Regions from separate parts of the Homo sapiens genome. Here region 1 is linked to region 2. The links are contacts of gene promoters, found by promoter capture Hi-C in blood cells and fetal thymus (Javierre and others, 2016). All regions are on one chromosome and are shown on one strand. Each heading gives the region's core, a stretch centred on a gene start or on the middle of the fragment in contact. The rest is flanking DNA. Distances are from core to core; before and after follow the strand shown. Region 1 overlaps USP15 (ubiquitin specific peptidase 15). Region 2 holds the start of AVIL (advillin).

Region 1 (5,866 bases), core at 1,604-4,103, 4.5 Mb before region 2:
AACTTTTATAAAAGTCCTAAAAAAAACCTAGGAAAAACTCTCTGTTCACTGGCCTACACAAAGAATTTATGACTAACATCTCAAAAACAAATCCAACAAAAAACAAAAATAGACAAAAGTGACTTAGTTTAACTGAAAAACTTCTGTACAGCAAAGGAAATAATTGAGAGAACAGACAACCTAACAATGGGAGAAAACATCTGTAATCTATGCCTCCAACAAAGGACTAATATTCAGAATTTACAAGGAACTCAAACTACTCAATGACAACAATGGCAACCAAAAAAACTCATTTAAATGTGGGCAAAGAACACAGATTTTTAAAATTTATTTTTATATCATAAATTCGTTTTAAAAAATTTTAAATTTTATTTTAAATATTAGATTCAGGGGGTACATATGCAGGTTTGTTACATGGGTATATTGCGTGATGCTGAGGTTTCGGCTTCTAATGATCCTGTTGCCCAGTAGCAAATACGGTACCTGAGAGGTTTTTTTCCAACCGCTACTCCCCTCTCTCCCTCTTCTCTTTTGGAATCCCCAGTGTCTATTGTTCTCAATTTTGTGTTCGTGTATACCCAATGTTTAGCTCCTACTTATAAGTGAGAACACACAGTATTTGGTCTTCTGTATCTGTGTTAATTTGCTTAGAATAATGGCCTCCAGCTGCATCCATGTTGCTGTAAAGGATACAATTTCATTCTTTTTGATAGCTGCACAGTATTGCATGGTATATATGTATCACTTTTTTTTTTTTTTTGAGACAGAGTTTCGCTCTTGTTGCCCAGGCTGGAGTGCAATGGTGCGATCTCAGCTCACCGCAACTTCCACCTCCCGGGTTCAAGCGATTCCCCTGCCTCAGCCTTCCGAGTAGCCGGGATTACAGGCATGCGCCACCTCGCCTGGCTAATTTTGTATTTTTAATAGAGACGGGGTTTTACCATGTTGGTCAGGCTGGTCTCGAACTCCTGACCTCAGGTGACCCGCCCACCTCAGCCTCCCAAAGTGCTGGGATTACAGGCATGAGCCACCACGCCCGGCCATGTATCACATTTTCTTTATCCAATCCATCAATGATGGGCACCTGGGTTGATTCCATGTCTTTACTATTGTGAACAGTACTGTGATAAACATATGAGTGTAAGTGTCTTTTTGGTAGAATGATTTATTTTCTAGTAATGGGACTGCTGAGCGAATGGTATTTCTATTTTTAGTTCTTTGAGAAATCTCCAAACTGCTTTCTTTCCACAGGGGCTGAACTAATTTGCATTCTCACCAATAACATATTAAACATTCCCTTTTCTCTGCAATCTTGCTAAAATCTGTTAACTTTTTAATAATAGCCATTTCAACTGGTGTGAGATGGTATCTTACTGTGGTTTTGATTTGTATTTCTCTGATTATTAGTGATTTTGTGCATTTTTTCATACATTTGCTGGCTGTCTGTATGTGTTCTTTGGAGAATTCTCTTCATGTTCTTTGTCCACTTTTTAATGGGCGTTTTTTTTCTTATTAAGTTCCTTATAGAGTCCAGATATTAGTCTTTTGTTGTATGCATAGTTTGAAAATATTTTCTCCCATTTTGTAGATTGTCTGTTTACTCTAAACAGAAAAATTTCAAACTAACACATATGAATGGTCAACATATGAAAAAAAATTCCACATCACTAATTATCAGATAAATACAAGTAAAACCACAGTGAAAAAGCATCCATACCAGTCAGAATGGCTATTATTAGAAGCTCAAAAGATAACAGATGTTGGCAAGGATGCAGAAGAAAAGGAATGGTGGGAATGGAGGGAATGGAAATTAGTACAACCTTTATGGAAAACAGTATGGAGATTTCTCAAAAAACTAAAAATAGAACTATCACTGGATCTAGTAATTCCACTACTAGGTATATACCCAAAGGAAATGAAATCATTCTATCAAAAAGACACCTGCACTTGTATGTTTATCACAGCACTATTCACAATAGTGAAGATATGGAAACAACCTAAGTGTCCATCAGTGGATGATTGGATAAAGGCAATGTAGCATATATGGATACACACACACACACCATGGAATACTACTCAGCCATAAAAAAGAATAAAACCATGTTTTTTGCAGCACCATGGATGGAAGTGGAGGCCATTATCTTAGGAAACACTTTAAGTGTCCATAAATGGATGACTGGATAAAGACAATGTGGCACACTCATGTACACACACACATACACAAACACAAAGACACAAACACCATGGAATACTACTTAGCCATAAAAAAGAAGGAAGCCATGTTTTTTGCAGCAACATGGATGGAACTGGAGGCCATTATCTTAGGGGAAATAATTCAGAAATACAAAATCAAATACTGCATGTTATCACTTATAAGTGGGAGCTAAATCATGTATACACATAGAGCGTGAATAACAGACATTGGAGACTCAGAAGGGTGGGAGGCAGGAGAGGGATGATAAATTATTAAATGAGTACAATATACACTATTCAGCTGATGGCTACATTAGAAGCCCTTACTTCACCATTATGCAGTTCATCCATGTAACAAAACTGCATTTGTAGTCCCTAAATCTATAAAAATATTAATAGAAAGTATAATCAACTCTTAAAACCTTAATTAAGCTTCTTTACCAACAGAAGTTAATAACAACAATACTATCTCTGACTGTTCCTCCTATAGTAGTAAAATATGGGGCAAGCAGGATTGGTTTTTGAATGATTTCAAAAGTGTGATACAGCTAACACTGTAAACATTACTGAAACTATATCCATCTTATTTTCAGCTGCCTAGAAACTAGCTTCTCATCAGATGACCAATGACAGAAAAAGTAAAACAAGAGTTCACTAGGATAGAAAGCATTAAAAAAAAACCTAAAACATTGTAAAAATTTATTCTGACTACAGTATGCCTGCTATAAAATACTGCTTTGTCATTGGTTCACAATGATTTTAAATTTTTCTAGAAACATTTCTCCCACATTTAACCAGGTTCAATCACAAGCAGAATCAAAGGTAAAGATAAAGGTTAATGAGAGATTTAAAGCTCATGTGTGTAATACTACAGGTAACAAAGCTTTTTAGAAGATTATCCATTCTAGTGTTTCTTTTCTATGCTTACCATATATAGCACTATAAGAACAAAAACCCACAGTTACGTCCGAAAATAGCTAAAGCAAAGGCACTAACCTAACAAAACCTCAGATTTCTTAAAGAATATTCATGAGTTTAACTCCCTAAAAGTGGATATGCAGAATTATCTATGTACCAGTATTCTGAACTCACTGTCAAGATTATGCAATTGAAAGCCCCCACACATTGTGGAATTTAAGATTTGTGAGAAAAGAATTGAGGGACTAAGTCTTAAGAAAATCCTATTTTCTAAAATAAATATTGACTAGACTAGCAATGACTTTACTTATACTCAGACATTCGACTTGCTTTCTTCGCAAAGTTCCACAAAAAAGTCTAATAAGATTTTGATTGGAAGTACATTACACTTACAAAGTTGAGGGACACTGCCATCTTTACCAAAGTGAGTCTTCTTATCCACAGCCACGGCGTATCTCTCCATTATTCAGGTTAATGTCTTTCAATAAATTTTATATGTTTTTCCAATAAAAATCATGTTTTGCTAAATTCGTTCCTAGAAACCTCAGTTTTTCTATGTGAATTTTACATTTTTTCCCCAATTAATTAAATTCTATAACTGCTTGTAGTTGATGCATAGAAATAATATTTGTTGTTTGTTTTTTGGAGATAGGGTCTCGCTCTGCTGCCCAGGCTGGAGTGTGGTGGCACGATCTTGGCTTACTGCAACCTCCACTTCCCAGGTTCAAGCAATTCTCGTGCCTCAGCCTCCAGAGTAGCTGGGATTATGGCTTGTGCCACCATGCCCAGCTAATTTTTCTATTTTTAGTAAAGACCGGGTTTTGCCATCTTAGCCAGGCTGGTCTCAAACTCCTGGCCTCAAGTGATCCGCCTGCCTCGGCCTCTCAAAGTGCTAGGATAACAAGCATGAACCACTGTGCTCAGCCTAATTTTTTTAAGTGATTAATCTGATATCCACCAGCATCCTGAACTCTTAGTAGTTTTACCTGGTTGTAGGTTCCCTTAGATTTTTCTATGTAAAAACTCATACTGTTGCTGCAAATAATGTGTTTAATCATTCCTTTCTAATTGTATTCCTATTGTTCTTGTCTATTGCCTATTTTTCTTGGCTAGGGCTCCTAAAATATAGGTGAAGAGACAGCAAACATTTTTGTCTTTTTTTTTATGACAACATTTAAAGTTTCACCACTAGGTAGATTTTTGATAAATGCTGCTTATTAGCTTGCTGTAGGTTTTTGATAAATACTGCTTATGAACTTAGAGAAGTTCCTTTCTATTCAACATTTGTTTAGACTATCATGACTAAGTGTTAAAGGTGATGAAAATTTTCTGCACTTGCCAAGCTTTTTCTCCTGTACTCTTCTGAACAAACCTGGAATAGCTTTTACTCTTCTACTATCTACAAAAGTAGTTTGTAACGGGTTATCTGCCCCTTAATGATTTACTTGTATGAAAAACTACTGGGGAGTATAGTATCATTTGGGAGGGTAGACTCTGATCTTCAGTTAATTTTTCTTAGTTACTGATTTTTCCCTTTAAAATGGAAATGCAAAATTTCCCGTTAGTTTTCTTAAAAAGCTAATGCCATATCCATTAAAAATAGAATATGGACTTGAGATAACATTAATACTACAGTTACAAATATCATTTATAAAACACATTAAAAACAATTTGTGGAAAAGTATAGAAATTCTATTTATAGTTACTTAGACATTTTTAAGATATAGAGTTTTATCTCCCAAAGTACTTAATAAATCCTTTACAGTTATACAGTAGCCTCCTTTTATCTGCAGTTTCACTTTCTGCGGGTTAACTGTCAACTGTGGTACTCTCACTACTCTTGCATTTTGGGTCATTATTAAATAAAATAAGGGATACTTGAACATAAGGATTGTGATACTGCAACAGTCAACCTGATAACCAAGAGGGCTTGAAGGCAGTTTGGGTGGAATGGCACAGTATTTCATCATGCTATGCAGCACACATGTAATTTAAAACCTATAAATTATTTCTGAAATCTTCCATTTACATCACAATGCCTATGTCATTTACCTCATGTCATCTCATCACCTATGCATTTTATCATCTCACACTATTACAAAAAGGGTAAGTACAGTACAGTAAGGTATTTTGAGAAACCACATCCACATAACTTTTACAGAATATTGTCATAACTGTCCTATTTTATTATTAATTGTTGCTGTTAATCTTCCTGTGGCTAATTTATAAGTTAAACTTATTTATTTATTTTTTTTTGGAGACAGGGTCTTGCTCTGTCACCCAGGCTGGAGTGCAGTGGGGCATGATCACAGCTCACTGTAGTCTCAACCTCCCTGGCTCAAGTGATCTTCCCACCTCAGTCTCCTGAGTAGCTGGGACTACAGGCATGTGCCACAAACTCAGCTAATTTTGTTTATTTTTTGTAGAGATGAGATATCACTACGTTGCCCAGGATGGTTTCAAGCTCCTGGGCTCAAGGTGCCCTCCCACTTTGGCCTCCGAAAGTGCTGGGATTACAGACATGAGCCAGTGTGCCTGGCCTATAAATTAAACTTTATTATATGTAAGCATAGGAAAAAGCAGTGTATATAAGGTTTGCTACTATTTGCAGGTTCAGGCATCCACTGAGGGTCTTGGAACTTATACTCTGCAGATAAAAAGGGACTGCGGTACTAAAAGTATATACTTGGTAAACCTTCTATAATGTCATACATTTCTATGTCAACTGTCTATTGTCATATATTTCTGTATCAAC
Region 2 (5,300 bases), core at 1,662-4,161:
AGCTGTGGCTTCGGACCCAAGGCCTGACCTAGGCTGCTATCCTAATATTGCAGGAGGGGCCTCTCTTCCAAGCCCCACCCTAAGGGTTAGCCCTTGGCCAAATCTTTTGCCGTCTAGGCCCAGCCAGGCTTTTCTGACTAAATAAGCAATAAGAGGCTCTAAGCTGACTGAGTTGCAAGGACCCTTTCCGCCCTCCCTTGGATCTCCATGTTTTTCCAGATGGCGGAAGAGCATGTGCCACCCCCTTTCCTAACAGACTTGTCCAAGTGCTTGGCGTGGGACCCATGACCAAAGCCCAGGATGGCTTGGTGGGAGTGTCCCTGCTGCATCTGCATGAAGCCCCTGCTTTTTAGGCCTCACTCCCATCAGAACCCTGCCTGCCCACCTGCAACTCCCCCCCAACAATGCCATTCCCACTTGCCCCAGAGAAGCTACTCGGCCAAACCTAGCCAGGGTCTGTTCTTGTGGACCAGAGCCAGCCTAGTCATTATTTGCTGTCGGGTTTCCAGTTTCACCGTGTGTTAGGGTGAGGGATGATTGTAAAATTTGCTCCTCAAAGGAATCAGGCCAGACTCAATTTTGGAGGGCAAGACAGGGAGGAGGCCGCTTCATCCCAGACTCTCTTCTAGGGCTTCCCACCATCAGCCCCTCCCACTTGAGACTGGTCTTTGGGAGGCAATAGGCCACCATGCCTGGTCAGCACCAATTCAAGCCATGCCAGGAATCTGCCTACCTGCCAGGTTCAGTTCTTTTAAGGTGCCTCTTCAGGGACACAGTGTGTCTCTCTGATTGGGCTTCTAAATCAAAAGCCTGATGTTCGTGTCCCTCTCATAGGGGGAGCTTTGGACACAGGACCAGTTTGGAAAAGGGTCAGGTAAGGGTTTCCACTCTGCACATTGTAGAGGGAACACTCTGTAGGCCCATGGGTCCCTTACTAGAGAGGTTGAGTGAATTTGCCTTCAGTTAACATGGGACCTTCTGTTTAGCTTCCTCTTGCTTCCCAAAGATTTTAAGCATTTTGTAAATGTATAAACTCACCTCTGGTAACAGTGGCCCAGACGCTGCTTTGTGCTAAAAGCATGGGAAATGTAAAGGCAGTCTTTCTCTGGGAAATGGATGCTATTCTATTCTGCTGCCCCTACCTGTTCCTGAGGCCTCATTTAGAAAGAAAATCCCCTCAGAAGGCTGTCTGGCACCCAGTGTCCTAGCCAGGCCAAGTATATGAGAAAGGTAAGTCCATTTTCCCCTTCAGGTCCTCAGTGGATTACTTAACCACTGCTGTCCCTCGGTCCCTTTTTCCTAAACGGGTTTAGTTCTGTCTTTTTTCTCCTTTTTTCTAAATGCTGGTAAATATTTACATTCAGCCAGGGAAGAGGAGGCCAGAGGTCGGGCCAGCTGCCCCATTCTTTTAACGTTGTAGGGCCTGCCCATGGAGCGGACCCTCCTCTTTGGGCCTCGTGAGCTTTTTTGCTTATCATGTTCCATTTCGTGCCGCTTTCCCCCTTCAAGATGCCATTTGGAGGGTAGGGGATCTGCTTCCCACTGTGACTGGGCTATGGGATTCTGACTACCTTGCTTACAGATTCATGGTTTGATAAATTTGTTGTATTCAAAAACTTGAAATGCAGGACGCCATTAAGTGTCTGTTTATATTTTTGGAATATTTGTATTACTTACAATTAATTAATAAAAGTGGGTTTAAAAAACCTTTCCAGGAATGTGAGCTGCCACCAACCTTCATTGGCCCTTAAGTGTTCACTGGGCCCATGGCAAGCACCGCCTTTCTTCTCGCAACCCCTTCCATCATGAAGCAGCTGCACCCCCGGGCTGAGTGGGGTGTTGCACCCACCGGGAGGCCAGCTGCAGATGCCACACAGGGCTTCCGCTCAAGGTTACACAAGTTCTGCTGTGATCAACCCCATTGCAGTCAGGTGCTTAGCACGTGTATATGCTTGATGTCCTATTGACTTCTGGGCATGAACCAGAAGCCCTAAGGGAATGGATTATTATTTTTTTTTTTTTTTTTGAAATGGAGTCTTGCTCTGTTGCCCAGGCTAGAGGCAGTGGCATGATCTCAGCTCACTGCAACCTCCACCTCCCAGGTTCAAGCGATTCTCCTGCCTCAGTCTCCTGAGTAGCTGGGATTACAGGCGCCTGCCAGCACGCCCGGCTCATTTTTGTATTTTTAGTAGAGATGGGGTTTCACCATCTTGGCCAGGCTGTTTTCAAACTCCTCACATTGTGATCCACCCACCTCAGCCTCCCAAAGTGCTGGGATTACAGGCGTGAGCCACCACCACACCCAGCCCTGGGAATGGAGTCTTGATTCTTCTCTGCCCCTCACTGATTCTTCCAAACTGGAAACCCTGAAGCTGAGAGCCCAGCATGGTTCCTGGCAAACAGCAGGCACTCAAATATTGATTGGTTTACTGTATGACTAGTAGAGACCCCAACGAGCAAAACTGTGGCCTAATAAAATTCTGGCTCCTCTCCCAGACTTCCCCTCCCTTTGAGAAATGCCAGAAGCTTCTTAGGGAGGCTCTTGCCAACCTAGACATCACAGGCACTCATGGGGCAGCTCCAGCCTCTTCCTCCTGTCATCACCATAATGCATCCATATCTACAATATGGCAAATTTCATATCCTTCCAACCTCTTTCCTGCATTATTGATGGGCTGTGTGCACTTTTTAAAAAATCAATTAGATCAGGGCGTGGAGCTGGAGTTCAAAGAAGCCTTTAAAAGTCTGCTCTTCTGTTTTGCTGTTTTGAATAGGCACAGATAAAGCTTTCCCTCTGGTTTGAATAAGCCAAGCTCAGTGCTAGGTTGGCTCTGATTGGCCAGGACTAGGAAAATGCGGTTAAGATGCAAACACAAGCAAATATAACCCAGTATCTCTGCGGCCATTACTAAGCTAAGGCAGCAGGACCTGGAGCCTCCTGCTTTGGAGTGGTTCTTCAATACTGCTGCTGCTTACGCGCCGGGAAACTGGGAAGGCTGGTGAGCGAGAAGGCAAGGTAAGGTCTCTGATTTACGGGGGCATGCCAGTTAATCCTCCTGAATGAGGAAGAAATGAAAGGAAGAGGAGCTTGAGAGTCCCTTGGCTTTGTCTTCTGAGATGAGGCTTTTAAAATGAACCAGGAGTCTGGCTGGCCAGTTTTGCAAACTTCTTGTTCAGAAGAACCCCTTAGAGGCAGCTGAACATATAGGGCACATTTTCAAAAGCTGGGAAAGACAGACCCCTTTCACCTATCCCTAGAGAAAGATGGTATGGAGCAAGGCAGGAGGAGTTAAAACCAGCTTCCTGGCCCAGAGAGGTGGCTTACACCTGTAATCCCAACACTTTGGGAAGCCAGGGCATGAGGATTGTTTGAGCCCAGGAGTTTGTAACTTGTGACCATCCTGGGCAACATAGTGAGACCCTGTCTCTACAAAAAAAAAAAAAAAAAAAAAAAAAAAAAAAGCCAAGCATGGTGGTGCACACCTGTGGTCTCAGCTTCTCAGGAGGCTGAGGCAGAAGGATCACTTGAGCCCAGGAGGTGGCGGTTGCAGTGAGCCGTGATTGTACCACTGCACTCCAGCCTGGGTGACAGAGCAAGACCCTGTCTCAAAAACAACAACAACAAAAAACAGCTTCCTCTGCTCAGGGTCCGTCCAAAAGGGCATCTCTGAGAATTACAGGCCACTGGCTTTTAACCTGACATTTCAAAACTGTGCCCCACACCCAAGGGGTTTCTGCAGTCCTCTCAAAGGATACTGAATTAGGATTTAGGGAGAAGGAGAGACCCAGCTTTGGGAGATTTGATGTCAGAACTGTGTTTTCTGTGTGTTCCAGTGTGACAGGAAGTCCCTTCCTGGAGCTTATCCTCTCGCATTCGGGGTGCCTGGCCCAGGGAGCTCCTTGATTCCTAAATTCCTGCTGGGAAACGGGACAGGTTTCAGCCTCTGAGGCTCACAGTCCTAATTGCTGCCGGCTGGTTTGGCTTTTACCAGGGTGACAGTTCTCTGTCTCCAAGGAATGAATTCAGTGGCCCTTGTCCCCTTCCCCTAGTTGGCTCATGGCTTTTGCCTTTAATGACTGCTACGTAGGGTCTGAAGAAAACCCAAACACCATATTTCCTGGCAATTCTGAGCAGCACAGGGTGGGGCAGCACAAGTTATCAAATTAAATTCTCAAACACTGGCTGCTCCGCACCATTGCCTTGCTTTAGTCCTGCTACAGCAGTAGACAAAGCGAGTCTGCTTTGAGCTTTATGGTTTTTTGCCAAAGTCCATACTAGATGGCGCATGCTCTCCAAACTTGGCTTTGTCCATCAAGGTTCAAGAAAACAATGGTCAGACATGTTCCTCTTAACAAACAGTATGTCCCCAAACAGCAAAAATGCATACAGTCCTTTCTGGGTGAATTTTTAAATCTTACATAAATCCATCAACCCCATCCTTTTTCCTTTGCCTCTTGGGAGAAATTAATCTAGCTTTACATTAATTATGCATGTTATCAGATTTCAAGCTCCTTGAGAGCAGGTATTTTAATTCTATAAAGCCTCTACGTGGCCTTGGACATGGGTAGGTGCTTAATTACCCAAGATGCTCCTTGAATACAGATGGTACACGACCTACACAGACTTAGATCTTTACCACTTCCCCCCTCTCCCCACCCTGACTTGCTCAATCCTGAAGGAACTGGAGACGTCTAAGTGTCTGAGGTTCACGCTTCCACACAGAAGCTTGGGTCTGTGTGGGAGGGAAAAAGGAAGCCATCTGTCCGCAGGCCAGACCAGGCCACACCCTGCTAGCACCCAGAACCCTTTGTCCCAGGCCCAGCCCTGCCATTTTACTTTCCTTGCATCTGGAAAGCACAGGGAATATAGTAGTGACAAAAGAAGGAAGGGTTGTTTGAGTTTAAGAATAGTTTACTCTAAAAAAAAAAAAAAAAAAAAAAAAAGGACAAAAGCCAAAGAGAAGGTCAAAGTTGACTGTGGAGAAGGCCTTGCAAGCAGGGAACTTGGGAAGAATTGGAATGAGAGTGAGAGAAGGCAACTGAGTTTGGAAATATTTTTTCTGACTAGCTTTTCTTTCCAAATGCCACTGAACTTAGATTGGTTTAGGAAGGGTTGTAGTACATCAAAGTGGCTAGAAGCACAGGTTTGGGGATCAGATAAGGATTTCATTCTAGAGTGTGATCTTGTACAAGTTATTCAGCCTTTGCAAACCTCAGATTCACACAATGTAAGATGAAGAAACTCACCTTCTGAAAATTAGAGATAACATATGCAAAGTGAATCAATACAGGGCTTAACA

What was found. Contacts are between HindIII fragments. The CHiCAGO score rates a contact against its expected background, and 5 or more counts as called.
Region 1: a contact is called between a fragment that was not itself captured here and the fragment with the promoter of AVIL in region 2, in 1 of 17 cell types (M1 macrophages). The highest score is 6.4, in M1 macrophages.

Annotation. Positions count from the first base shown.
Region 1 is chr12:62,281,832-62,287,697 of GRCh38, reverse strand. The region is part of intron 1 of USP15 (ubiquitin specific peptidase 15); the gene reads right to left. Among named protein-coding and RNA genes, the nearest start is that of USP15, 24 kb to the right of the region's middle. The HindIII fragment of the contact is 451 bases long and covers 2,628-3,078 here.
Region 2 is chr12:57,816,345-57,821,644 of GRCh38, reverse strand. It overlaps AVIL (advillin), which reads left to right and starts at 2,911. Exons shown (of 20, transcript NM_006576.4): 1 at 2,911-3,016. It overlaps CTDSP2 (CTD small phosphatase 2), which reads left to right. Exons shown (of 8, transcript NM_005730.4): 8 at 1-1,718. The HindIII fragment of the contact is 1,940 bases long and covers 2,789-4,728 here.